Regions from separate parts of the Homo sapiens genome. Here regions 1, 2, 3, 4, 6 and 7 are each linked to region 5. The links are contacts of gene promoters, found by promoter capture Hi-C in blood cells and fetal thymus (Javierre and others, 2016). All regions are on one chromosome and are shown on one strand. The core of a region is centred on a gene start or on the middle of the fragment in contact, and the rest is flanking DNA. Distances in the headings are between cores, read along the strand shown. Region 1 has its middle 130 kb from the start of TACC1. Region 2 has its middle 110 kb from the start of TACC1. Region 3 has its middle 110 kb from the start of LINC03042. Region 4 has its middle 73 kb from the start of LINC03042. Region 5 holds the start of FGFR1 (fibroblast growth factor receptor 1). Region 6 holds the start of LOC124901936 (a long non-coding RNA gene). Region 7 has its middle 92 kb from the start of LINC03042.

Region 1 (3,803 bases), core at 1,018-3,517, 190 kb before region 5:
GTTTTTGTTCTTTTGAGATGGAGTCTTGCTCTGTCATCAGGCTGGAGTGCAGTGGCGCGATCTCCACCTGCAACCTCCACCTCCTAGGTTCAAGTGATTCTCGTGCCTCAGCCTCCCAAGTAGCTGGGACTACAGGTGCATGCCACCACACCCAGCTAATTTTCATATTTTTAGTAGAGATGGGGTTTCACCATGTTGGCCAGGATGGTCTCGATCTCTTGACCTCGTGATCCACCCACCTTAGCCTCCCAAAGTGCTGGGATTACTGGTGTGAGCCACCAAGACTGGCCCATGCTGAATGTTTTTGAGTAAAGGTATTACCTTATCTACTGGGGGAACCTGCCCCCAATATTTCAACGTAGGTTCTTTCTATTTTCCATAAGTGTCAGCCAGCTGAGAAATAAAGAGAAAGAGTACAAAGAGAGGAATTTTACAGCTGGGCCACCAGGGGTGACATCACATATTGGTAGGACCATGATGCCCACCTGAGCTGCAAAACCAGCAGGTTTTTATTAAGGGTTTCAAAAGGGGAGGGGGTGTACAAACAGGGAGTCGGTCACATCCTTCAAGGGGCAAAAAGCAGAACAAAGATCACATGCTTCTGAGGAAACAGGGCAAGGGCAAAATCAGAACTCCTGATAAAGGTCTATGTTCAGCGGTGCACGTATTGTCTTGATAAACATCTTAACAGAAAACAGGGTTCGAGAGCAGAGAACCAGTCTGACCAAAAATTTACCAGGGTGGAGTTTCCCAATCCTAGTAAGCCTCAGGGTACCACAGGAGACCAGGGCGTATTTCAGTCCTTAGCTCAACCGCATAGGACAGACATTCCCAGAGCGGCCGTTTATAGACCTCCCCCCAGGAATGCATTCCTTCCCCAGGGTATTAATATTAATATTCCTTGCTAGGAAAAGAATTTAGCGATATCTCTCCTACTTGCATGTCTGTTTATAGGCTCTCTGCAAGAAGAAAAATATGGCTCCGCAGGCAGTCAGACCTTATGGTTGTCTTCCCTTGTTCCCTAAAAATCGATGTTATTCTGTTCTTTTTCAAGGTGCACTGATTTCATATTGTTCGAACACACATGTTTTACAATCAATTTGTACAGTTAACACAATTATCACAGTGGTCCTGAGGTGACGTACATCCTCAGCTTACGAAGATAACATGACTAAGAGATTAAAGTAAAGACAGGCATAAGAAATTATAAAAATATTATCTGGGAACTGATAAATGTCCATGAAATCTTCACAATTTATGTTCCTCTGCTGCAGCTCCAGCCAGTTCCTCCATTCAGGGTCTCTGACTTTCTGCAACACTTATCAGATCTTTGCCATGGAATGATAACTCTGATTCTCAGGTATAAAGCAACTGTGATAATCCAGGCAAGAAATGATGAAAGCCCAAACTAAACAATTGCAGTAGGGATGGAGGAGAGGAGAAGGGTTGGAAAAATAGAAGGTTCTCTACAAGACTCAATGACATAATAAGGAGATGGAGACTTGTGAGGGCTCCAAAACAATTCCTTCCCATGTCTTTAAAAAAACTAAGTGATGGTCTTGCCTCTCACCAAAACAGAGAATACTGGGAAGAGAAGCCAACTGTGCTCCCATGAAGTCAGAGTGTCCATGATACAGAACCATGGCTCTCCTCTCCCCAACAGTCCACTAGTGTTTCCCAATCTGCTTCTTTGCCATCCTCTCAAAGTGTCACACAGCCCAGTCACTTTGAGAACATCACTGGTTCTCAACTTTGGCCAAAAGAAAACTGTGTGTTCAGCAAGTGCTTCACCAATGGCAGGATTTCACCATAATGTCTGTGGGCAGCTTCACAATTTCTGATTCAGACCATTCTTGCAACTGCAAAAGCCGCTGAAAGGTCTCTGAATGAACATCTCATGTTCTCATGTCCACTACTGCAGGGAAGGTGGAGATGCCATTCATTCCTTAGCAGATTTTTTTTCCAGCTTGTGGTTTTCACAAACCACATAGAAGACTACACATTCCTGTCCAATCAGCAGGCTGAAGACTCATGCTTGTACAGTACACATTGGTGCTGTGCGATGTACCCACAGCCAGGGAAGTCTCTGACTACTCCTGAAAACCCACTGTGGCAGCAGAGTCTGATCTGATTACTGAGAGAAGTTTTGGCAGTCCTGAATTTGAAAGAGCTGCTATGAATTTGACCCCAGGTTGAAGAGTGTTGCAATCAGATGTCATCATTCTACTGAACCTGAAGAAGACAGAGCACAGCCTGAGCTGTAGACTGGACTACAGAGTTGGGGCTGGCCCAGAAAAGAAGAGTGCTCAGTGATAGCAGCTTGAAACAACAAATGTATATTCCTTTACATTGTTCCTGTGGGTCAGGAGCCCAGGAGCAGCTTATCTGGGTGATTCTGATTTGAGGTCTCTCATGAAGTTGCAGTCAAACTATTGGTCAGGACTGCAGTCATCTGAAGGCTTGACTGGGGCTGGAGGATTCAATTCCAAGCTCACTCACATGGTTGTAGGTAGAAGTCTCAGTTCCATGCCATGTGGGCCTCTCCATATGGTTTCTTTCCATTGGGCTGCATATAGCATCTGGCTTTGCCCAGTGTAAGAGAGAAAGACAGAGTGGCACAGAGACAAAGAGAGACTCAGATCTCTGTGGAAGCCACAGTATCTTTTATAACCTAATCTCAGAACTGGCATACCAATATTTCTGCCGTATTCTAATTGGTCATATAGACCATCCCTGGCACAATGTGAGAGAGAATAACACAACCGTGTCAATGCCAGGAGGCAGAGGTCCCCACCAGAGCCATCTTGGAGGATGGCTACCATGCTGTGAAAGTTTTGGTGAGCCCTCAATCCTGTACAGAATCTGGTAAACAGCCAGAAGGAAAGACAATTCAACCTATGAGACTTACATTTAGCTTTTTTTTTTTCCAACTTGATCACAGTATAGGAAACTTTGCACACTTTATATTGCCTGCGTTTTGATCTCCAGTGGACCCAGCATTTCCAGCCCACTCCATTCATGAACCTTCCATGCATAGTGCCAGCCTCTAAATGCAACTTCACCTGCATCTAGAACCAACACTATATATAGTTCAGCACTTTATCACTTTTTTATTGTTCTGCATATACTTATATGGCTTCCCCAACTAGACTGTAGGCTCCTTATGAGAAAGGAACATATGTCTTCTTTTTATTTGGAAGGGACCACAGTGGCAAGCCTTCTGCTAGACACAAGGTGGTTGTTTAATCAAGAGTTATTCACTGACTGATTGACTTCGAGACCCTCCTTAAATCCTCCTTTTTATAGTCTGGGAATTTGAGGAGTCAGCAAGGAAAAAACTTGGTCAGATGAATCATCACTCAAGTCCAGAGCAAAACTCCATAGGCAGCTGCTGATCCCAGCTGGGGGAAGAAGGCTGGCTCTTAGGCCGAGGCTCAGAGGCTGCCTGCTGCATTTAGCTCGGGCTAATGATGCAGCCTTTCTTGCACTGAGCTGCCCACTAACTCATGAGGCTGTTGGAAGCCTTGTTCCTGTACACTGTGGGCTGGTTGTGTGCATTTGGCCAAGTGAACACTAATGCTTCAAGAGGAAATGGTTCCTAACAAGCAGAACTTTCTTTTAAATCTCTCCAGCATTTGTGAAACCATTGTGACATGGGAAGCAAGTCTGCTTACAGAGCAGAAGGGCCACTGGCCTTGCACAATGTCATCCATACACACTAGTAAGTCATAGGGTTCTGATTCTAGTCTGCTCCTTAGCACCAAATCATACAACCCTCAGTGATTTGGGATGCTGTATTCAGC
Region 2 (3,375 bases), core at 236-2,735, 210 kb before region 5:
GTTTATTTTATTTTATTATTATTTTTTTAGAGATGGGGTCTCACTCTGTCACCCAGGCTGGAGTGCAGTGGCATGATCCATAGCTCACTGCAGCCCCCAGCTCCTGGGCTCAAGCAATCCTTCCCTGTCAGCCTCCTGAATGACTGGGACTACAGGAGCATACCACCATGCCTGGCTTGTTTTTTTAAATTTTTTTTTGTGGAGACAGGGTCTTACTATGTTGCCCAGGCTGGTCTCAAACTCCTGGCCTCAAGCAATCCTCCCACCTCAGCCTCCCAAAGTGCTGGGATCACAGGCGTGAGGCACCTCACCCAGCTACTGTTTAATGTTTAATCACATGCAGGTCTTACAGTGGTACTGAGCTCTGACCTCACTTGGAGTTGCTTGTCCTCCTTGCCACTCTGGAGCCTGCCACCAACACAGGCTGCAGTTCTTCCCTCCCCTTAGCCACCCTCGCCATAGCCGGGTGAGGGAGCTGGGGCAGATTCCATTGCCTTCTTTTAAAAAGTTATCATCTTGTAGCTCAGAGAGGTCAAGTGATTTGCTCGTGGCCACCCAGCCAGTAAGGAGCAGTGTGATGGCTGGACCCAGCTCTTCCATGCTTGTTCTCAGGGCTCCTTCCTCTGCCCTGGCTTTGTGCACAACACACACATGGCTGTTTTCAGGAGAGCAAAAAGCTACTGCCCTGCTGGGGTGAGAGTTGATCAGGATGTAGACCATCCATGAATCAAGGGAGCAGATGCATGGAGGCCGCTTTTGCCCAGGTTAGACGTGGCCCAGGTTCTAGATTCTAGACTGCTTCTCATGTGGGAGTCACCTCTGCCTAGCAAGCTCGTGATATGAGTTCTCGTCTCATCTCTCCCTTCTCTTTTGTGCCCCCAACACAAATGAGCAGTACGATTAATATGTATCACAATCACCTGCGGAGCTATTTACACCTCCCAGTTCTCAAACCAACTGCACTTCAATAAAGGCTTGTGAGAGGAGCTCGCTATCCGCCCCCAACCCAGAGGAAGGAGCTAACATTCATCAGTTTCCACGGTTCCGCCCCTAGCAACATTTCCTAGAAGATTCCCCTTCCTTAACGTCTTTCTCCATTGTCTTAGCTATCTGAGTAGCTCCTAGATTATTGGGTGCCTTTGGATCATGTCCATTATTCAACTCGTTCATCTAATCTCTGCTCCTTTCCGGAATTGTCCTTTAACCCCTGGAAAGCCTTAATGTTTGTGGTCATTCAACACAGCCCAAATATGCCAAATACACATGCAAACACACCCTGTGCTGAAAACCCTTCTGCAGCTCCACTGAATCAAGTCCAAAGTCCTTAAAGTGGGACCTAAGAGTCTGCCAGTACCTGATCCCTGCTTACCTTCCAGTTGCATCATTTGTCCAACTTCCCTGAAACATACCCTCTCTTTCCACCACTATTTTCCAACTGCTTTCCCACCTTCACTCATATGCAAGCTCTGCTCTCGGCCTGGAAAAGCCCTACTCTTGGGTCCATCTAGGAAACACCTTCTCATTTTTCAGGACTCAGATTGAAGATCTCTTCCTTCAGAAAACATCTCAGCCTCTCCCCTCACACCCCACACCCCAAAATGCATTATTCCTTCTTTTTAGGCTCTGTCTCCTATCCCTAACTAAACCAGGAGCCATGTATCTTCAGAGCCATAGAGTCTGAACACACATAGTGGGTACCGAGGGCAGGGCCATGAGCCCACATTTTCCTGTTAAAATAGTATTCCAGTAAAAGTGTTTACTGAGTATTTTCTCTGTGCCAGACACTGTTTTAAGTGCTTTTTTTCTATTAGACTTATTTGTATAAAAATATCTTTTTCTCTAATATTAGTTACTCAGAGTGCCCTCATGTCAGGTTTCAGAGGATGCAATATAACTTTTTTTTTTTTTTTTGAGACAGGGCCTCACTCTTTTGCCCAGGCTGGAGTGCTGGAGTGCAGTGGCATGAACATGGCTCACTGCAGCCTCAACCTCCTGGGCTCAAGCAGTCTTCCCACCTTAGCCTCTGGAGTGGCTGGAATCACAGGCCCATGCGCCACCACACCTGGCTATTTTTTATTTTTTACTTTTTGTTTTATGTTGTTTATGTTTTTTATTTTTTATTTTATGTTGCCTGGGCTGGTCTCAAACTCCTGGGCTCAAGCAATCCTCCTGCCCTGGCCTCCCAAAGTGTTGAGATCACAGGCATAAGCCACTATACCCAGCCACAATGTAAGTTTTAATTGTAGCATCTGTAAGATTCAATAAGAGCCATTGTCCCCTGTTGATTGGAGGGTTCCACTGGATTGCAGCCGTATGTTGGACATCTCTGATTCATTCATCTGAGTGGGATTGTTTTCATAGTTTCATTTATTGTAGTTTTTAAAAGTGCTAATTGAATTATTTGAAGCGTGATTTAGTTTATTTTGACAATCTCATTCCCATTATATCTAAACATGTAAATACAAGTCAATAGGAAAAAATTATTCAAGATATACAAATGATTCAATATAGAAAGGCTTTTAAATTTTATTTTAAAAGCAATCTCTCAGGACCATGTCTATTCCATTCCAGATATTTAACATGCCTTGAGGAAGAGCATCATTTTTATAGAAAGGGGATTCACGTTCCCCTAGATTTACGATGCAGGATAGAGTTGGGGGTCCCAGTGCAGAAAGGGGACCAGCAGCTGAGCCCTCCAGCCTCCTCATTATCACTGGCATGTGCTGGCATTTCTTAGGGGATGGCCAGCTTAAAGCCACCAAAACGTACTTCTTCATTCATTAATCTCTGAGAGTGGGAGTGGAGACAGGTAAATCCGCGCAAGATTGGCATGAAGTGCAATATGACTTCGCTTTCTTACAAGGAGCCACCCTTCATAGAAATTGCTTCCTTCAACCTTTCAAAGGATGAAATGCTAGAAGACAGACAGCATCTGGCTCAAACAGCAGCATATCAAAGGGGATAACGGTACACTGTGTGGTGAACAACGGGTTCCTGTATACTGAGCAGGATGATGGCAGAGGAAGAAAGCAGCCTGTGTGAGGCACAGTAAAAAAGGGTCGGTGCACCTGTGGATGTGTTAAAGAAGAGAGTGAGGACTACGGCGAGAATGACGCCATTCTGCTCAGGTGACCCGAAGAGGCAGGCAGCCATCCTCCCACGGGGGCATGAGACACAGCTGTCTTTGACTCAGGGACTGGAAGAGAAACTAAGGACAGAGGTTCTCCTTTATTTTTATTTTATTATTATTGTTTGAGACAGGGTCTTGCTCTGTTGCCCAGGCTGAAGTCCAGTGGTGTGATCACTGGACTAACTCCAGCCTCAACCTCCTGGATTCAAGCGATCCTCCCACCTCAGCCCCCCAAGTAGCTGGGA
Region 3 (3,507 bases), core at 420-2,919, 170 kb before region 5:
TCATATAGATATACCAATTCATTTAACCACTCTGCTGTTGATGGATGTTTGTGTTATTTCCAGTTTGGGGCTATTACAAATAATGCTGCTACGAACATTTTTATATATGTCTTTTGGTGAACATATGCTCACATTTCATTTTGGTATAAACCCAAGAGTGGAATTTCTGGGCCACAGGGTATCTGTACCTTTAACTCTGGTAAATAATGCCAATTTACCAAAATCCTTGTACCAATTTACAATCCCACAACTTCTCATCCTCCCAAATACTTAGTATTGTCAATATTTTCAATTTTAGTCATTTTAGACCCATGGTCATTTGAATTTGCATTTTCCCAATAACTAATGAAGTTGACTACTGTCTCAGGTCAGGTCCCTTGAGAAACAGACTGAGATGGAGGTTTGCATGAGGAAGTTGATTGGGGAATGCCCTTAGATGGACACCTGTCAGAGACAGAAGGCAACAGGATGGACGTCTCATTGCAATAGGCTTCCGCTGATCCCATGGGAACTCAGGAGCTGGCCTGACCCTTCAGAGTTGTCCTGCCTTGAGGCAAGGGGGCCAAGCCTTCACAGCAATCACTGAATGTGGTTTTGACCCATCATTGAATGCAGGTTGTCCTTGGAAAGGAGTATGACTGGGTAGTAGAGTTCTCTTTTGCCAAGGGCAGTTCCTAGAGAGGACCACAGGGGAGGAGAAGGCTCCCAGAAGCTAGGGAGATGAGCGCTTTAGTCCCAGAAGGCAACCTTAACTCCACACTGTAGCTGCATCAAGCACCTTTTCATATGCTTCCTGGCTACTTAGAGACCCTCTCCTGTAAAGTGCCTATACTGATTTGCCAAGTTCTTTTTCATTAGGTTGTCTTTCTTTTACTTATTGATTTATAGAAGTGTTTTGTATATTTTAAAGATGAGTCCTTTGTCAGATATATGCAATACAAAAATATATATTGCCTTTTCATTCTTTTCATGGTGTCTTTTTATGAATGGAAATTCTTAATTTTCACAGTTTTTTATTCCTTTTTGACAAGTGGGTTTTATTGTGATCTGTTTACAAAATCTTCACATACTCTAATATCATGAGAATATTCACATGTTGCCTTCTAGAAGCTTTATTGTATTACTCTTCATATTAATGTCTGTGGTCCACCCTGAATTGATTGTTGTGTATAGCATGTTCTAGAGACCAAATTTACTTTTTTTTGTTTGGACTTCTAATTAACCTTAGCACCGTTTACTGAAAAGATCACCCTCATCTCATTACATTTCAGTGATAACTTTGCCATAAGCCGGGTGACTGTGTCTATGTGGGTCTATTTCTGGGTCCTGTTATGTTCTGTTGGTCTTTATGTCTGTCTTTGTACCAATTCCATACAATTTTAATTATCAAAGCTTAAGATAAGTCTTGATAGCTGATCATATAACTCCTCTGACTTTGTTTTCCTCAAGAGTGTCTTTATTATGCATAGCTCTTTCCATTTCCACATAGATTTTAGAATCAGCTTGTCAATTTCTACCAAAAAAAACAACAACCTGGCTTGGATTTCTATTGGAATTGTATTGAATCTATCGATCAATTTTGAGAGAATTGACTTTTTACAGCACTGAGTCTTCCAATCCCTGACCATGGTATATATTTACTGTCTTAGTCTGTTTTCTGTTGCTTACAACAGAATATCAGAAACTCAGTAATTTGTAAGGAAAATAAATTTATTTCTTATCGTTATGGAGGCTGAGAAGTCAAAGGTCAAGAGATCACAACTAATGAGAGCCTTCCTGCTGGTGGAGATTCTCTGCAGAGTCCCAGGGTGGCATAGAATACCACAGTGGGGGCTGTGTGTACTAGTTCAGGTCTCTCTTCCTCTTCTTATAAAGCCACCAGTCCCATTCCCATGACAACTCATTAATCCATTAGCCCATTAGCCTATAAATCCATGAAAAGCTTAATCCATTCCTGAGAGCAGAGCTGCCATGACCCAATCACATCTTAATGGCCTTACCTCTCAATACTGCTGTATTAGGGATTCAATTTCAACATGAATTTTGGAAAGAACAAATATTCAGACTAAAACATCTATCTCTTCTTTAATTTCTCTCAGTAATGTTTTGTAATTTGCAGTAAGGAGATCTTATACCTCTTTTGTTAGATTTATTCCTACATGTTTGATTTTTTTTTTTTAAGAGTGTCTCACTCTGTCACCCAGCTTGGAGCACAGCAGCATGATCATAGCTCACTGGAGCTCAAACTCATGGGCTCAGGTGATCCTCCTGCCTCAGCCTCTCAAGTAGCTAGGACTGCAGGCACAAGCCACCATGCCCAACATAGTAGTCTTTATTTAATCTTGATTTTCCTTTAAAGAAATTATCAGATGATATTTTATTATATACCATATGTACAAGAGTAGATTCCAATTGTGTGGGGCAGTAGCTTATAAAATTCGGGTGGCCATTTAAAAATATTCATTTATTATTATTATTTTAAATGTGGTAAAATACACACAACATAAAATTTACCATCTTAACCATTTTTAAAGTATTCAGTTCAGTGCCATTAAATACATTCATGGTATTGTGCAACAATCACCAGTATCCATCCCTAAGATTCTTTTATCTTGCAAAACTGAAACTCTATACCCATTAAACAATAACTCTTTATTTCCCCTCCTATGAGTCCATTTTGCTTTCTGTGTCCATGAATTTGACTATTCTAGATCTGTCATATAAATGGATTCATATAGTATTTGTCTTTTTGTGACTGACTTATTTCACTTAGCATAATATCCTCAAAGTTCATCCATGTTGTAGCATATGTCAGAATTTCTTTCCTTTTTAAGGCTGAATATTTCATTGTCCTTGGGACAGGACAAGCCTACCTTCCTAGTAGACCTAGACATTGGCCCCAAAGATGTCTTCTCCATTTCTACCATGAGGACCTAGAGAGTCATAAAATAGTCCTGGAAACCAGACCTCATTAGCCAGATTTAATGAGGCCTCGTTATGACACTCACTAATTTTGCAATTTCTCCACCCACAATGTCTTGGATTCCTTATTTATAAGGCACTTTCACATGTGATCTCACAAAATCACAACAATCCCGATATAGAAATGAGGAAACTGAGACTCAGAAAGACCAACTGGCCTTTGCAAGGTTACACTTTTGATAAACAGGCAAGACAGGATTCAAAGCAAAATCTCCTGCCAAGAAACCTTCTGATTTTAAATGCCAAGTTCCTGAAATGAAATTGAGACTCAAAGCCAGGCACGGTGGCTAACGCCTGTAATCCCAGCACTGTGGGAGGCCAAGGTGGGCGGATTGCTTGAGGACAGGAGTTCGAGACCAGCCTGGCCAACATAGTGAAACCCCATCTCTACTAAAGATACAAAAAAATTAGCTGGGCCTCAGCCTTGGGAGGCTGAGGCAGGAAAATCGCTTGGACCTGGGAGGTGGAGGTTGCATTGAGCCTAGATTGCACCACTGCACTCCAGCCTGGGTGACAGAGTGAGAT
Region 4 (3,339 bases), core at 715-3,214, 130 kb before region 5:
AGGACAACAGTCATGTTGGATTAAGGCCCCACCCTACTCCAGGATGACCTCATCTGAACTCATTATATCTGCAACAACCCAGTTCCAAATAAGGTAAGGCATAAGGTACTGAGAGTTAGGACTTCCACATATCTTTTTGGGGAACACATCCCATAACACATACTGATGCCTGTTTCTGAACTAAAGGTTTCTGAAAGTGAGAGGCTCACTGGAGTGGCCGGTGGATCTGAAGGGACTGTAGCATAGACCACTTAGAAAGAAGATGGGGCCACTCCCACCCTGCTCCAGTTCTCTATAAAGAGGACCTCAGGGATTCCTGCAGTTGTGCAGGAAGAAGCCTGTGGTGGCTGGGCGTGGTGGCTCACACCTGCAATTTCAGCACTTTGGGAGGCCGAGGCAGGAGGATCACTTGATGCCAGGAGTTCAATAGCAGCGTGGGCAACCTCTTCTCTACCGTGTGGTGGTGCACATACTCAGGAGGCTGAAGTGGGAGGATCACTTGAGCCCAAGAGGGGCTGGAGTGAGCTATGATTGTGCCAGTACACTCCAGCCGGTACAACAGAGTGAGACCACCGTCTCGAAAAAAAAAAAAAAAAAGAACCAGGAGTTCCAGGACAGCCACAGAGCTGGGTAGTAGGACACCTAAACCAGAGGGGACAAGCACCCAAAGGGAGACTGCCGCCCACCCTGGAGGGGGTTCCTTATTTTGGAGGAAACCGAGGTGAAGCTGAACACTGCCCCCAAGAAAGCCAGGCCCGGAAGTCTCCCCACACTGGCAGGGACTGGTCAGGTAGGGAAAGCTCTGCCTCTACCCCTCCTTCCTGCCCTCTAGCCCCATCGAAGAGAGAGAAAAGGAGGGAGGGTTGCAGAGGCAGACTACACCATCCTCCTGTTCTCCGGGTTGCTGGGAGCCAATGCTCTCACCAGCCCAGGAGGAGGGAGGACAGAGTGTTGCATTGTGCTTAAGACTGAAGTTTGGAAATGTGAACAGGCCCAAGCCTTAACTGCTGGAATGAGACTGTGTGAATGTCCAAAAGTGACAGGGGAGGCATGGCACCCATCCAAGGAAGCATTAGGGGATGTGAAGCAGCGGGACAGAGGGCCTACACTGTATAAATGAAAGCAGCAATTGGGGAAAATAAATCATACCATTGCAAGCTCACACTTCAACAGTTCAGACTCCTCCATCTAACCAGTTATAATGAGTTTCTCTGAACCTGATTTGTAAAAGTGTCACATGCAGGCTGCTGCCTCCACCAGCTAGGCTGTGCCCTTCATCCGGCGCTTGGGACCCAAGCTCAGACAGCCGTCTTCCTGCAGCAGTGACATGCCCAGGTGAGAACAGGTCCCAGCCCTCGTCACTCCAAAGCCAGACACAGAACTACATGGGCTGCAGCACAAAGAGGTCTTTGTTGGCATCCATCCTCAGACAATCTCAATATCCCTCCCCTCAGGTTGCAAGTGTCAGACATCAGGAAACTTTCTCCAAGGAAGCAAGGCTGAGTAAGGGCTGCCAGGCTACCAAGAAGCCAGCTCCACCATATATTTCACAGAATGAGGCTTTTTGGAGTGACACAGACCAGGGAGAAAAATGCTATGGGCACTCAAATTCTTGAGCTTGTTACTGCTCTAGGGCAAGGTGTGAAGAAAGCATTGTGGAAGATGCTGCACCATGGAAATCTGTTGGGAGAAGGAGTGGGAGCGTCTTGGTAATAATAAAGCAGGTTGGGGCGTGTGTATGTGTATTTGGGGGGACTGAAGGGTACGTGGGGCGAAACAAAACCGGCCATGGCAGCAGCGGAGGAGGAGGACGGGGGCCCCGAGGGGCCAAATCGCGAGCGGGGCGGGGCGGGCGCGACCTTCGAATGTAATATATGTTTGGAGACTGCTCGGGAAGCTGTGGTCAGTGTGTGTGGCCACCTGTACTGTTGGCCATGTCTTCATCAGTGGCTGGCACGGCCAGAACGGCAAGAGTGTCCAGTATGTAAAGCTGGGATCAGCAGAGAGAAGGTTGTCCCGCTTTATGGGCGAGGGAGCCAGAAGCCCCAGGATCCCAGATTGAAAACTCCACCCCGCCCCCAGGGCCAGAGACCAGCTCCAGAGAGCAGAGGGGGATTCCAGCCATTTGGTGATACCGGGGGCTTCCACTTCTCATTTGGTGTTGGTGCTTTTCCCTTTGGCTTTTTCACCATCGTCTTCAATGCCCATGAGCCTTTCCGCCGGGGTACAGGTGTGGATCTGGGACAGGGTCACCCGGCCTCCAGCTGACAGGATTCCCTCTTCCTGTTTCTCGCCATCTTCTTCTTTTTTTGGCTGCTCAGTATTTGAGCTATGTCTGCTTCCCGCCCACCTCCAGCCAGAGGAGAATCAGTATTGAGGGTCCCTGCTGACCCTTCCGTACTCCTGGACCCCCTTGACCCCTCTATTTCTGTTGGCTAAGGCCAGCCTTGGACATTCTCCAGGAAGGCCTGGGGAGGAGGAGTGAAGTCTGTGCATAGATGGGAGAGCCTTCTGCTCAGAGGCTCACTCAGTAACGTTGTTTAATTCTCTGCCCTGGGGAAGGAGGATGGATTGAGAGAATGTCTTTCTCCTCTCCTAAGTCTTTGCTTTCCCTGATTTCTTGATTTGATCTTGAAAGGTGGGCAAAGTTCCCTCTGACTCTTCCCCCACTCCCCATCTTATTGATTTAATTTAATTTTTCACTCCCCAGAGTCTAATATGGATTCTGACTCTTAAGTGCTTCCTCCCCCTCACTACCTCCTTTAATACAAATTCAATAAAAAAGGTGAAATAAAAAAAAAATCAATAAAGCAAAATAAAATTTGCTGGCATATGGGGCTCAAACAACTCAATTAGAATCAATTCACCAAATATTTACGGAAACCCCATTGCATGCACGAAATAGTATTAGGCACAGTTAGGAATAGAAAGATCAGTAGGGCAGGGTCTGTTTTAAAATGTACCTGGGATTGGCTGGGTGAGGTGGCTCACCCCTGTAATCCCAGCACTTTGGGAGGCCAAGGCGGGTGGATCACCTGAGGTCAGGAGTTCGAGACCAGCCTGACCAACATGGTGAAACCCCATCTCTACTAAAAATACAAACATTATGTGGGCGTGGTGGGGGCACCTGTAATTCCAACTACTCCGGAGGCTAAGGCAGAAGAATCGCTTGAACCCGGGAGGCAGAAGTTGCAGTGAGCCAAGATCGCGCCATTGCACTCCAGCCTGGGTGACAGAGCAAGACTCCATCTCAAAAATAATAATAATAACAAAATAAAATGTACCTGGGATTTATTTAGGCATGATGAGACCAGCAGATCAGGAGACAACTGCCATTCA
Region 5 (3,485 bases), core at 974-3,473:
AGTATGGCCTTCTTACAAGCGTGTGATGTGTAGTAATTAAAATGCAGGAGGCCTAATGGGTGGGCAGCTTACATAGGAGTATAAACCAAGCTTGACCAGGAGCTGAAAGGTTAAATGGTGGCTCTTAGGGGAAAACCCTATAAACAGTGGCTGAAGTTCATTTATTCAACAAAGATATGAGTTCTTGTTTCTCATTTTTTGTTTTGTATTATTTTGTTTTGAGACAGGGTCTTACTCTGTCGCCCAGGCTGGAGTGTAGTGGCTGGATCATAGCTCACTGCAGCCTCAAACTCCTGGGCTCAAGCCATCCTCCTTCTTCAGCCTCCACCTCCAGCTAATTTTTAAAAATATTTTGTAGAGACAAGGGCTCACTTTGTTTCCCAGGCTGGTCTTGAACTTCTGGCTTCAAGTGATCCTCCCGCTTCGGCCACCCAAAGTGCTGGGATTACAGGCGTGAGCTGTAATTTAGTTGTTTATTTACTCATTTGTTCAACAAATACTTATTGAATATTTGCTCTTTGGCCAGTCAAGGGATTTCATGAGTGTCTACTATGTGAATAACACTGTGTTGGCCACTAGTCTGTCACCTACTGGTGGATTAGAAAAATAGCGCGAGGACCATTTTTTCTTTTCTTTTCTTTTTTTTTTTGAGACGGAGTCTTGCTCTGTTGCCAGGCTGGAGTGCAGTGGCACAATCTCGGCTCACTGCAACCTCCGCCTCCCGGGTTCAAGCGATTCCTCTGCCGCAGCCTCCCCAGTAGCTGGGATTACAGGCAAGCGCCACCATGCCTGGCTAATTTTTTTGTATTTTAGTAGAGACGGGGTTTCACCTTGTTGGCAAGGATAGTCTCGATCTCCCGACCTCGTGATCCACCCGCCTCGGCCTCCCAAAGTGCTGGGATTACAGGCATAAGCCACCGCACCCGGCCAACTCTTTTCTTAAATTAGCCAGGGAGGCGTGGGTGGGTTGGGTGAGGAGTTGGGTGGGGGGATCTCATTCAGTATTCAAACTTCTACAAGTTTCGGGGTTGAGGTGGGTGATGGTAAGGGAACAGGCCCTGCCACTACCTTTCATAGTGACTTCCATTTGTGTAATATTTTTGGTCCACTGAGAGCTATTATTTTATTTGATTCTTATGACCATCTTGTGAAGGAGTATCAACAGATACCCCGTTTTGATTTTATCAGATGCATGATTTGTCCTACATCAAACTTCATAAATGATGGACAGAATGGAGGAATCCTTCAGACCAAGTGCTGCCTACTTCCCACCCCAATGGTGGCCTCAGCCTGGGCTCACATCACACGCCCCAAGGAGCCTTGGAAAAAATAAAGGCTCTTGGCTCCTTCCTGGGACAGCGTGATTCCTCATGTCTGAGCAGGCCCATGAACTTGTATTTTTCAGACGTTCCCTAGGACCCGTGTCCATCTGGATTAGGGAACCACTACATTATACCACTTCGCGGGAAGACTCAGGGGGAAGCATTTTAGCCACTTTCCTGTGTTCCACAGTACTGGAGGGTGTTCTGAGTGGGCTGTGATTAATTTCCAAACCAACCACACGTCTCCCCTCAACTCCCACTGCTTACTCTTTGCTTCCTAGACATTCACTGCAGGCTGGAGACTTCTGGAAGCCAACAGCATCGCTGTAGAATTTACAGGGTCCAGTTCCCGGTGGACCACAAAACCTAAATTATGTGGCTGGGGAAAGCTGAAATCCAAGGGAAGGGTTTGAGGAGGGGCTGACCTTATAATAAAACCGGCTTGTATTTACTAAGTGTTAACTATGCGCTAGGCCCTCGTTGACGCCTCAACTCTATGTGAAAAGCACTATTATCCCCCATTTACAGATGGGAAAACAGAGATTTAGAGCGCGAAAATCATTTCCCCAAGGCGCACAGACTCCAAAGCCCACGCTACCAGGTACAACCTCAAGGCTGCGGCGTCTCTTCACCTGCCCCCTAGCCCCCAAACCGCTGCTATGTCTAGGGCCTGACATTCCGGCGCCCTCTGGGACGTGCTCAGATGCAGGGGCGCAAACGCCAAAGGAGACCAGGCTGTAGGAAGAGAAGGGCAGAGCGCCGGACAGCTCGGCCCGCTCCCCGTCCTTTGGGGCCGCGGCTGGGGAACTACAAGGCCCAGCAGGCAGCTGCAGGGGGCGGAGGCGGAGGAGGGACCAGCGCGGGTGGGAGTGAGAGAGCGAGCCCTCGCGCCCCGCCGGCGCATAGCGCTCGGAGCGCTCTTGCGGCCACAGGCGCGGCGTCCTCGGCGGCGGGCGGCAGCTAGCGGGAGCCGGGACGCCGGTGCAGCCGCAGCGCGCGGAGGAACCCGGGTGTGCCGGGAGCTGGGCGGCCACGTCCGGACGGGACCGAGACCCCTCGTAGCGCATTGCGGCGACCTCGCCTTCCCCGGCCGCGAGCGCGCCGCTGCTTGAAAAGCCGCGGAACCCAAGGACTTTTCTCCGGTCCGAGCTCGGGGCGCCCCGCAGGGCGCACGGTACCCGTGCTGCAGTCGGGCACGCCGCGGCGCCGGGGCCTCCGCAGGGCGATGGAGCCCGGTCTGCAAGGAAAGTGAGGCGCCGCCGCTGCGTTCTGGAGGAGGGGGGCACAAGGTCTGGAGACCCCGGGTGGCGGACGGGAGCCCTCCCCCCGCCCCGCCTCCGGGGCACCAGCTCCGGCTCCATTGTTCCCGCCCGGGCTGGAGGCGCCGAGCACCGAGCGCCGCCGGGAGTCGAGCGCCGGCCGCGGAGCTCTTGCGACCCCGCCAGGACCCGAACAGAGCCCGGGGGCGGCGGGCCGGAGCCGGGGACGCGGGCACACGCCCGCTCGCACAAGCCACGGCGGACTCTCCCGAGGCGGAACCTCCACGCCGAGCGAGGTAAGAGCCGCGGCGCCCCCGGATCTGGGGCGGGCTTGGCGTCCCGAGCGGCCCCCGGCGCCGGAGCCTCCCGGCTGCGCGCTTTGCCCGCCGCAGCCCAGCCGGGGCCGGCGCCTCCCTCCGCTCGCCGCCCGCCCCTTTCACCTCCTGGCTCCCTCCCGGGCGATCCGCGCCCCTTGGGTCTCCCCTCCCTTCCCTCCGTCCGCGTCTCCTGCGCCCCCTCCCTGCGCTCGTCCCGCCGCTCTTCCCGCCGCCCAACTTTTCCTCCAACTCGCGCTCGGGAGCTGGCGAGGCGGCGGCGGCTCCTCAGTGAGTCCCGGGAGGGACAGGCCCGGGGCGAAGGCGGCGAGGCCCGCGGTTTCCTGGACTGGGGAGGAGGGCGGGAGTGGGCGGCGAGGTGGGATGCGTTGTGTGTGTTATGTGTGTGTGTTGCATTCCACTCCATGTCTTTTTGGTCCCCTTTTGGGGATTCACCCCCAATTCAGCAGGTAGCTTTGGGCTCAACGCTAAAAATCCGGGGCATTCCTAAGTCCTTTTCCACCCCCGGGAAAGCCTGGGGTGCGGGTTGGGGTCGGATGGGGTGGGAGATGAACTGCGGAGGACGTGGA
Region 6 (3,425 bases), core at 603-3,102, 230 kb before region 5:
CTTCTTGCTCTGGCCCTCCACCGAGCTGGGACGCAGCTGGATTGCAATTCCATGGCCGTCCACTTCCTGCTGCTCCACGCTGGACTGTGGTCATCCTCGTGCTAAGGAAGGTCACGGGCTTGTTAATTAGCTGGAAAGCAAAGACAGACAGGATACAAATGTTCCTAGAAAGAAACTAGCATAGTGTGACGTCAGTACTGTTTTCAACTTTTAGCTGCTACCCTTTCCTGTTTCCTGAGGACATTTCAACATGACTTCGAGCACAGTTAAAGTGAACTGCCAAGGTTAAGCGAGGTATGGGCCTCAGAGCCACAATGCACTGATTTTTCTCTTGGTTTCTCAAAGGGAAGGTATGTGAAACCACAATGGGAAATACAGATTTCCAAGTTTTATTTTTATTTGCATGCAACATATATTTGCATGATCCTTTATTCTTGACATTTTTGCATTCATAATTTCATTTGAAGTTTTACCAGAATCATTTTAGGTAAGGTGGGCATTTATCTTTCCCTATCTCATCAGAATGAGATATTTGAGCTTAGAGAGCTACTACAGGTAGTAGTGACCAAGGTAGGACTAATTCTAGGTTTCCCGGCTCCTAGACAGGATTTCCATTGCATCCGATTGCCTTTCATTACAGAACCCAGAAAGAGCTGTGGGTTGGTCAAAATCTATCAGATCTGTTCAAGTGGAGATATGCTTTTGTTTTTTTCGTCTGTCCAGCTTTCCTTCCTTACGGAATCTCCCAGCCCCTAATTCTATAATACTACTCGCTTAGTTTGGCTGTGGTGAAACCCACCTTGTCCTCTACTAAAGATATGGAACGAAGACCTCGTCAGTCAATCTTCCATGATCCCGGCCACCGCAATTGGCTCAGGTAGGGGCACATGACCTAAGTTGGCCAATCAGTTTTCTTGGGCCTTTTGTTAACGCTCTTTTGTTTCTCCAGGTCGTTGCTGCCATGAAGTAAGAGTCTGTCTGGAAATGAAGGCGAGCAGAGGCCACAAAGCTGAGACATGGAGACAGAGAGAGTCCTGATGTTATTATTTGAACCATTGAGTCCAGCTGTGCCTGAAACTCTTCAGTGAGCCAAGAAATTCCTTTTTGGCTTAAGCCAATTGGAGTCGTGTTTGTGATACTTGCAAATGAAAGGAGTTATTGACTAATAAAACTGCCATTTCTATCTCTCCAAGAATTAGGAAATACTTCTTTAAAACTGTTTATTTGCAGTATGCTTTATTCCTTCCCACAAAAAAGAGGCAGCTTATAAAAGTAAATATGAAAAATAGGCACAAAGGGTGTATAATACATGAAATACATGTGTATATGTCTAGCACAGTCTTTATATTAAGTTGACAAAAATTATTATTATTATTATTATTTTTGCAACAGAGTTTCACTCTTGTCACCCAGGCTGGAGTTCAATGGCATGATCTCGGCTCACTGCAACCTCCACCTCCTGGGTTCAAGTGATTCTCCAGCTTCAGCCTCCCGAGTAGCTGGAATTACAGGTGCCCGCCACCACCAGCCCAGTTAATTTTTGTATTTTTGGTAGAGATGGGGTTTCACCATGTAGGCCAGGCTGGTCTTGAATTCCTGACCTCAGGTGATCTGCCTACCTTGGCCTCCCAAAGTGCTGGGATTACAGGCGTAAGTCACTGCACCTGGCCCAAAAATTATTTTTTAAGTTACAGTACGAACTACTGCTGAGGGTGCTGGGTAATTAACATTGTTGGAGAAATTATAAACTGGTGCAAACCTTCTGGAGATAAATTTGACAATGCTTATTCATATCCATTGTTTGTCTATAATCAACCATTCTTCTTTTAGGAATGCATCTGAAAGAAATAATTACATAAATAAGGAGATATGCAAAGATTTAGCTATGAGAATGATTGTTTAATCACCAGAAGTTGGAAAACAGCCTGAATATCCAATGACATAAAAACAAAATTGGCGGGGCGCGGTGGCTCACGCCTGTAATCCCAGCACTTTGGGAGGCCGAGGCGGGCGGATCACAAGGTCAGAGATCGAGACCATCCTGGCTAAGACGGTGAAACCCCATCTCTACTAAAAATCAAAAAATTAGCCGGGCCTGGTGGCGGGTGTCTGTAGTCCCAGCTACTTGGGAGGCTGAGGCAGGAGAATGGCCTGAACCCAGGAGGCGGAGCTGGCAGTGAGCCGAGATGATGCCACTGCACTCCAGCCTGGGCGACAGAGAGAGACTCTGTCTCAAAAAAAAAAAAAAAAAATTATCTGTCCACCAATTGGAATACCATGTATTTATTAAAATAATGATGTGGAATTTTATTTACTGACTTGGAACAATATTCATATATTGTGAACTGGCTTTGGACTAATACATTTAAATTCTCCCTAGGCTGACTGGGCGCGGTGGTCCGTGCCTGTAATCCCAGCACTATGGGAGGCTGAGACGGGTGGATCACTTGAGAGCAGGAATTTGAGACCAGCCTGGCCAAGATGGTGAAACTCCATCTCTACAAAAATACAAAAATTAGCCAGGCATGGTGGCATGCACCTGTAATCCCAGCTACTCAGGAGGCTGAGGCAGGAGAATCGCTTGAACCCGGGAGGTGGAGGTTGCAGTGAGCCGAGATTGCACCACTGCACTCCACCGTGGGTGACAGAGTGAGATGCTGTCTCAATAAAATAAAATAAAACAATTAATTCTCCCTAGGCTGCAGCAAGAATCGAATGAATCACTCTTAACCCCATGCCAAACAAACAAACAAACAAACAAAAAAACCCTACTTGTTGGTTGTGGGCCTTAAAAAGAGAGCTGTATAGAAGTGGCAAAAATTAAGTTTGTGTATCCTTGCTTGGGTCAAATTTGGCTGTCCATAGATATGAGGTTAATTTTTTCCTGTTAGAGCATGTGCTGGTTCTATCTATACATGCTCCAATTTTCAAATATTTCACTAATATTAGGAGATTATCTGTTGGCATTGAGTTGGGTCTCAAAGTATCATCTATTCTAGACCAATGGTCACCAAAATGTATGTATCCTCAAAATAAAGCACTGGTCTGTGAAAAGAAAATCTTAGAACTTCTATTTCTAGTTAACCCTTTTTAATGTAAAAATATAATAAATGTGTTTTATAATGAACATAATACATGTGCCTTATAAGTAATGTGTTTTCTAATGCACATAATAAAACAGGATAGTATATAACAAATACATATGCAAAGATTATTAAAATGTTTTTGATGATAAAGTATGTTCTGGTCACCTATTGCTGTGTAGCAAACAAACTGAAAAGCTGGTGGCTCATTCATAATCTTGTGGACCAGGAATTTGTAAAGCACTCAACTGGGCTGTTCATCTTTGCCCCAAGTAGCATCAAATGGAGCAGCTGCCTCCAAGATGGTATACTCACATGGCTGGCAAGTAGGTGCTGACTATC
Region 7 (3,451 bases), core at 679-3,178, 150 kb before region 5:
ATGGAGTGTGAAGGGAACTTCAGCTGGCCCTTGGAAGCTGAGTAAATGCAACCGGGTGCTGAGGAAGAGAGGGCATTCCTGCAGAGGAGCATACACATGAAGACTATAAATAATAACTCAAATCAAACCTGCATTGGACTTAAAATCACAAGCTGTTAGGGCTCAAAGGATCCTTCGAGGCTGTGTAGTTCAGCCCTTCCTTTTGCAGACAGGAACACAGAGGGGCTAAAGAAATAAAGTTGCAATGGATAAGCTGCTTAACCTCCTTGGGCTTAGTGAATATTTGTCTCCATGGAACTGGGATTTCTTTGTAGACAAGATCTCAGTTATCCTAATAACATCCTTGGGAACCAGCCAGGGAGACGGAGATGGAGATGAGAGTGGTGATTTGGTCCTTTGTATGACAGTCAGTTGGAAAAGAACCAGGTTCCCCCAACTCTGTTAGGGCAGACTCCCAAGCTGCAAAGCTATTGGGAAGGGAATGCTGTAATGAGGGGTGGTGGGGAGGAGAGACCTTCCAACTGGCCTCCCTCCGTCCATTCATGCGCACTTCCATTCTGTTCGGCACACCGCAGCCAGGTATAGTTTTATACACAAAATTCACCTATTTTAATTGGGTAGTTTGATGAAATGTTAGTAACTTTACACAGTCTTGTAAGCATGAGCACAATCAAGATATAGATGTTTCCATTACCATAAAAACTTTATTAATGCAACCATTGCTGTCCATATCTTCTCCCTACCCCTACCCAGGCAACTACGATTGCTCTGTTTTGCCTTTTCTAAGATTTCATATAAATGGAATCAGACAGCGTGCTGTCTTTTTGTTTTTCACTTCTTCCACTTAGTATGGTATTTTTGAGATTCATTTATGTTGCATGTATTAATAATTTCATTCACTTTTATTGCTGAGTAGTGTATGAGTATACCCAATCTGATTATCCACTCAGCAGTGAAGTTTGGGTTCTTTCCAGTTTTGACCTATTTTGAATGAAGCTGCTGTGAACATTCACATACAAGACTTTGTGAGGACATATATTTTCATTTCTCTTGGGTAAATTTCTGGGAGTGGGATAGCTGGGTCATAGGGTAAGTATATATTTCGCTTTATAAGATACTGTGGCTGGGTGCAGCGGCTCGTGCCTGTAATCCCAGCACTTTGGGAGGCCAGGAGGGTGGATCACCTGAGGTCAGGAGTTCCAGACCAGCCTGGCCAACATGGAAAAACCCTGTCTCTTCTGCCAACTTACATTTGACTCTCCAAAGAAATAGAACCAATAAGATATATCTATAAATAAATTTATTATAAGGTATTGGGTCACATGATTATGGAATCTGAGAACTCCCACAATCTACCATCTGCAAGCTGGAGACCCAGGAAAGCCAGCGGTATATTTCAAAGTCCTGAGAGTCAGAGAGCCAGTGGTGCAGGTTCCAGTCTGAGCCTGAAGCCCTAAGAACATGAGCACTGAGGGCAGGTATCATGAGCTGGTATCCCAGCTCAAGCAATCAGGCAGAAAATGTATTCACACTTCCTCCACCTTTTCTTCTATTCAGGCCCTCAACAGACTAGATGATGCCCACTCACACAGGGGAGGGCCAAGTACTTTACTCAGTCCACCAATTCAAAGGCTAATCTCTTCCAAAAGCACCCTCACAAATACACCCAGAAGCAATGTTTCACCAGCTGTCTGGGCACTCCTTGGCCCAGTCAAGATGACACATAAAATTAACCATCACAGCACCCTCAACCAGGATTTCAAGGATAGTTTGATAAAGAGACTATATACAAAGGTTAAAAGAAATAAAAAGAGAAGTTAAGGCATTCCAGGATTAGCAAATGTGGGAAGCCATTGTGACTCCTAGGCCTGAATGGGCAGAGGGAAAAAGGTGCTACAAGAACCAGCAAAGTTGGAACCATGGGAACGGGGCCACCCAACAGGAACTGCTGTTGTAGAATACAGGCACCACCAGAAACTCAGCACCCAGGCAGGGAGAAAGCAGGAGGGGAAATGTCATGGCTTCTCTTCCCTCTGTTCTCTTATCTCCTACTCATGCCTCCCATCGCCCAGACCCAACTGGAAGCCAGAGGGCAAGGGAGCCCAGGAGGCATAGTCTCAGTGATCACCCTCCTGGGGTGCACAGCAAGACAGAGTAGGACCTTCTCCAGCCTGGTTTTGCCCTCTTGTTCCTTCCAACACAGGCATACTGGATGTCTTTCAGTTCCTCAAATAGTTCTCTTCATCCCTTTGCTGCGTGATGATTCTTCTATGAATATTTTTCCCCTGTATGTGCCAACCTCACCCATCTTCAGCCTCCTTTTGTCAGCTTAAGCCTAAAATCTTCAAGGAAGTCTTTTATGGCTCCCCAGATTAGAAAATGACTCCCTTTTATATCTATTTCTAAAGCTCCTTGTACCTCTCTCTTACAACACTATGAATAATCAATCATGTATTATGATTAGTTAGTTATTTATCTAATATCTGCCTTCTCCAACAAACTGTGAGCTCAAGGAGAGCGGAAGCAAGTTTATTTTGCTCACTCCTCAATCTGCAGAACTAGCACAGGAAACAGCACAGGATCTGCACACAGGACTCGATAACCACATGTAGATGGATTAGTCAGTATGTCTGTCTCTCTTTCTGGAATATGAGGGAACTGATCATGTTCTACTAATTTCTGAATCTCCATCTCCAAACATGGTGCCTAGCATATAATAAGCTCTCAGTAAATATGATATAATATATTAATACATAGACAAAACTATTTATATTTTTAACCTAACTGCTTTTGAAAGTAAGGAGTTCCATTAATTTAATGCCCACTGTGAAAAGTTGTCTTTTTTAAAAATTCATCCTAAAATTAATAATAGACAATAGAGATTCCAAAAGGTGGAAGATGGGGGGGGGTGGGATGAGATGGGATGGGATGAGAAATTACCTACTGTGTACAATGTAAACTATTTGGGTGATGGCTACGTGAAAAGCCCAGACTTCACCACTACACCATGTATTCATGTACAAAACTTCACTTGTATCCCCTAAATCTATAAAAATTAAAATTAAAAAATTTGTCCTAAAATTGCCTCTTTTGAGCTTGGAGTCTTCACCCTGCTCCCCAGTTTTGTAATTCTCAGCCTTGGGAGCCAAGTCTGTATCCAACATGTTTCTGCAGCCTTCACTTCTGCCAACTCACATTTGACTTTCCCAGTCCAACTGGACGACATCTCTGCAGTCTCTTTATATTTGGCCAGACTTCAGCCCCTAGAATACTTTATTTCTGTCTTCTAGAATTTTTCAAACCCCATCATATATTACTAACTTTCCAGTGTCAGAAATGTCCATTACACTGTACTTGTCTGTTAGGTTCTTAAACCAAAGAAGGACATGGCTTTCTCTTTCCATCCCAGTCCTTGTCCTGATGTGCAAGTCAATCAAATTCTTGGAGAGTC

What was found. The method cuts DNA at HindIII sites, captures the fragments that hold promoters and counts their contacts. A CHiCAGO score of 5 or more calls a contact.
Region 1: a contact is called between a fragment that was not itself captured here and the fragment with the promoter of FGFR1 in region 5, in 4 of 17 cell types (M1 macrophages, M0 macrophages, M2 macrophages and 1 more). The highest score is 13.1, in M1 macrophages.
Region 2: a fragment that was not itself captured here is called in contact with the fragment with the promoter of FGFR1 in region 5 in 5 of 17 cell types (M0 macrophages, M1 macrophages, M2 macrophages and 2 more); the score reaches 16.2 in M0 macrophages.
Region 3: a contact is called between a fragment that was not itself captured here and the fragment with the promoter of FGFR1 in region 5, in 4 of 17 cell types (M0 macrophages, M1 macrophages, M2 macrophages and 1 more). The highest score is 9.3, in M0 macrophages.
Region 4: a fragment that was not itself captured here is called in contact with the fragment with the promoter of FGFR1 in region 5 in 3 of 17 cell types (M1 macrophages, M0 macrophages and M2 macrophages); the score reaches 8.8 in M1 macrophages.
Region 6: a contact is called between a fragment that was not itself captured here and the fragment with the promoter of FGFR1 in region 5, in 5 of 17 cell types (M0 macrophages, M1 macrophages, M2 macrophages and 2 more). The highest score is 24.5, in M0 macrophages.
Region 7: a contact is called between a fragment that was not itself captured here and the fragment with the promoter of FGFR1 in region 5, in 3 of 17 cell types (M0 macrophages, M1 macrophages and M2 macrophages). The highest score is 10.0, in M0 macrophages.

The regions. Positions count from the first base shown.
Region 1 is chr8:38,658,420-38,662,222 of GRCh38, reverse strand. No RefSeq gene overlaps it. Among named protein-coding and RNA genes, the nearest start is that of TACC1, 130 kb to the left of the region's middle. The HindIII fragment of the contact is 7,512 bases long and covers 1-3,803 here.
Region 2 is chr8:38,678,305-38,681,679 of GRCh38, reverse strand. No RefSeq gene overlaps it. Among named protein-coding and RNA genes, the nearest start is that of TACC1, 110 kb to the left of the region's middle. The HindIII fragment of the contact is 5,437 bases long and covers 1-3,375 here.
Region 3 is chr8:38,638,245-38,641,751 of GRCh38, reverse strand. No RefSeq gene overlaps it. Among named protein-coding and RNA genes, the nearest start is that of LINC03042, 110 kb to the right of the region's middle. The HindIII fragment of the contact is 550 bases long and covers 1,395-1,944 here.
Region 4 is chr8:38,599,650-38,602,988 of GRCh38, reverse strand. It overlaps the pseudogene RNF5P1. Among named protein-coding and RNA genes, the nearest start is that of LINC03042, 73 kb to the right of the region's middle. The HindIII fragment of the contact is 7,404 bases long and covers 1-3,339 here.
Region 5 is chr8:38,467,373-38,470,857 of GRCh38, reverse strand. It overlaps FGFR1 (fibroblast growth factor receptor 1), which reads left to right and starts at 2,223. Exons shown (of 18, transcript NM_023110.3): 1 at 2,223-2,877. RefSeq lists enhancers at 1,891-2,060, 1,497-2,483 and silencers at 2,341-2,410, 2,681-2,810, 2,821-2,940. The HindIII fragment of the contact is 10,295 bases long and covers 93-3,485 here.
Region 6 is chr8:38,698,406-38,701,830 of GRCh38, reverse strand. LOC124901936 (a long non-coding RNA gene) reads left to right here and starts at 655. Exons shown (of 2, transcript XR_007060892.1): 1 at 655-877; 2 at 950-1,195. RefSeq lists an enhancer at 7-507. The HindIII fragment of the contact is 7,618 bases long and covers 1-3,425 here.
Region 7 is chr8:38,618,616-38,622,066 of GRCh38, reverse strand. No RefSeq gene overlaps it. Among named protein-coding and RNA genes, the nearest start is that of LINC03042, 92 kb to the right of the region's middle. The HindIII fragment of the contact is 6,514 bases long and covers 1-3,451 here.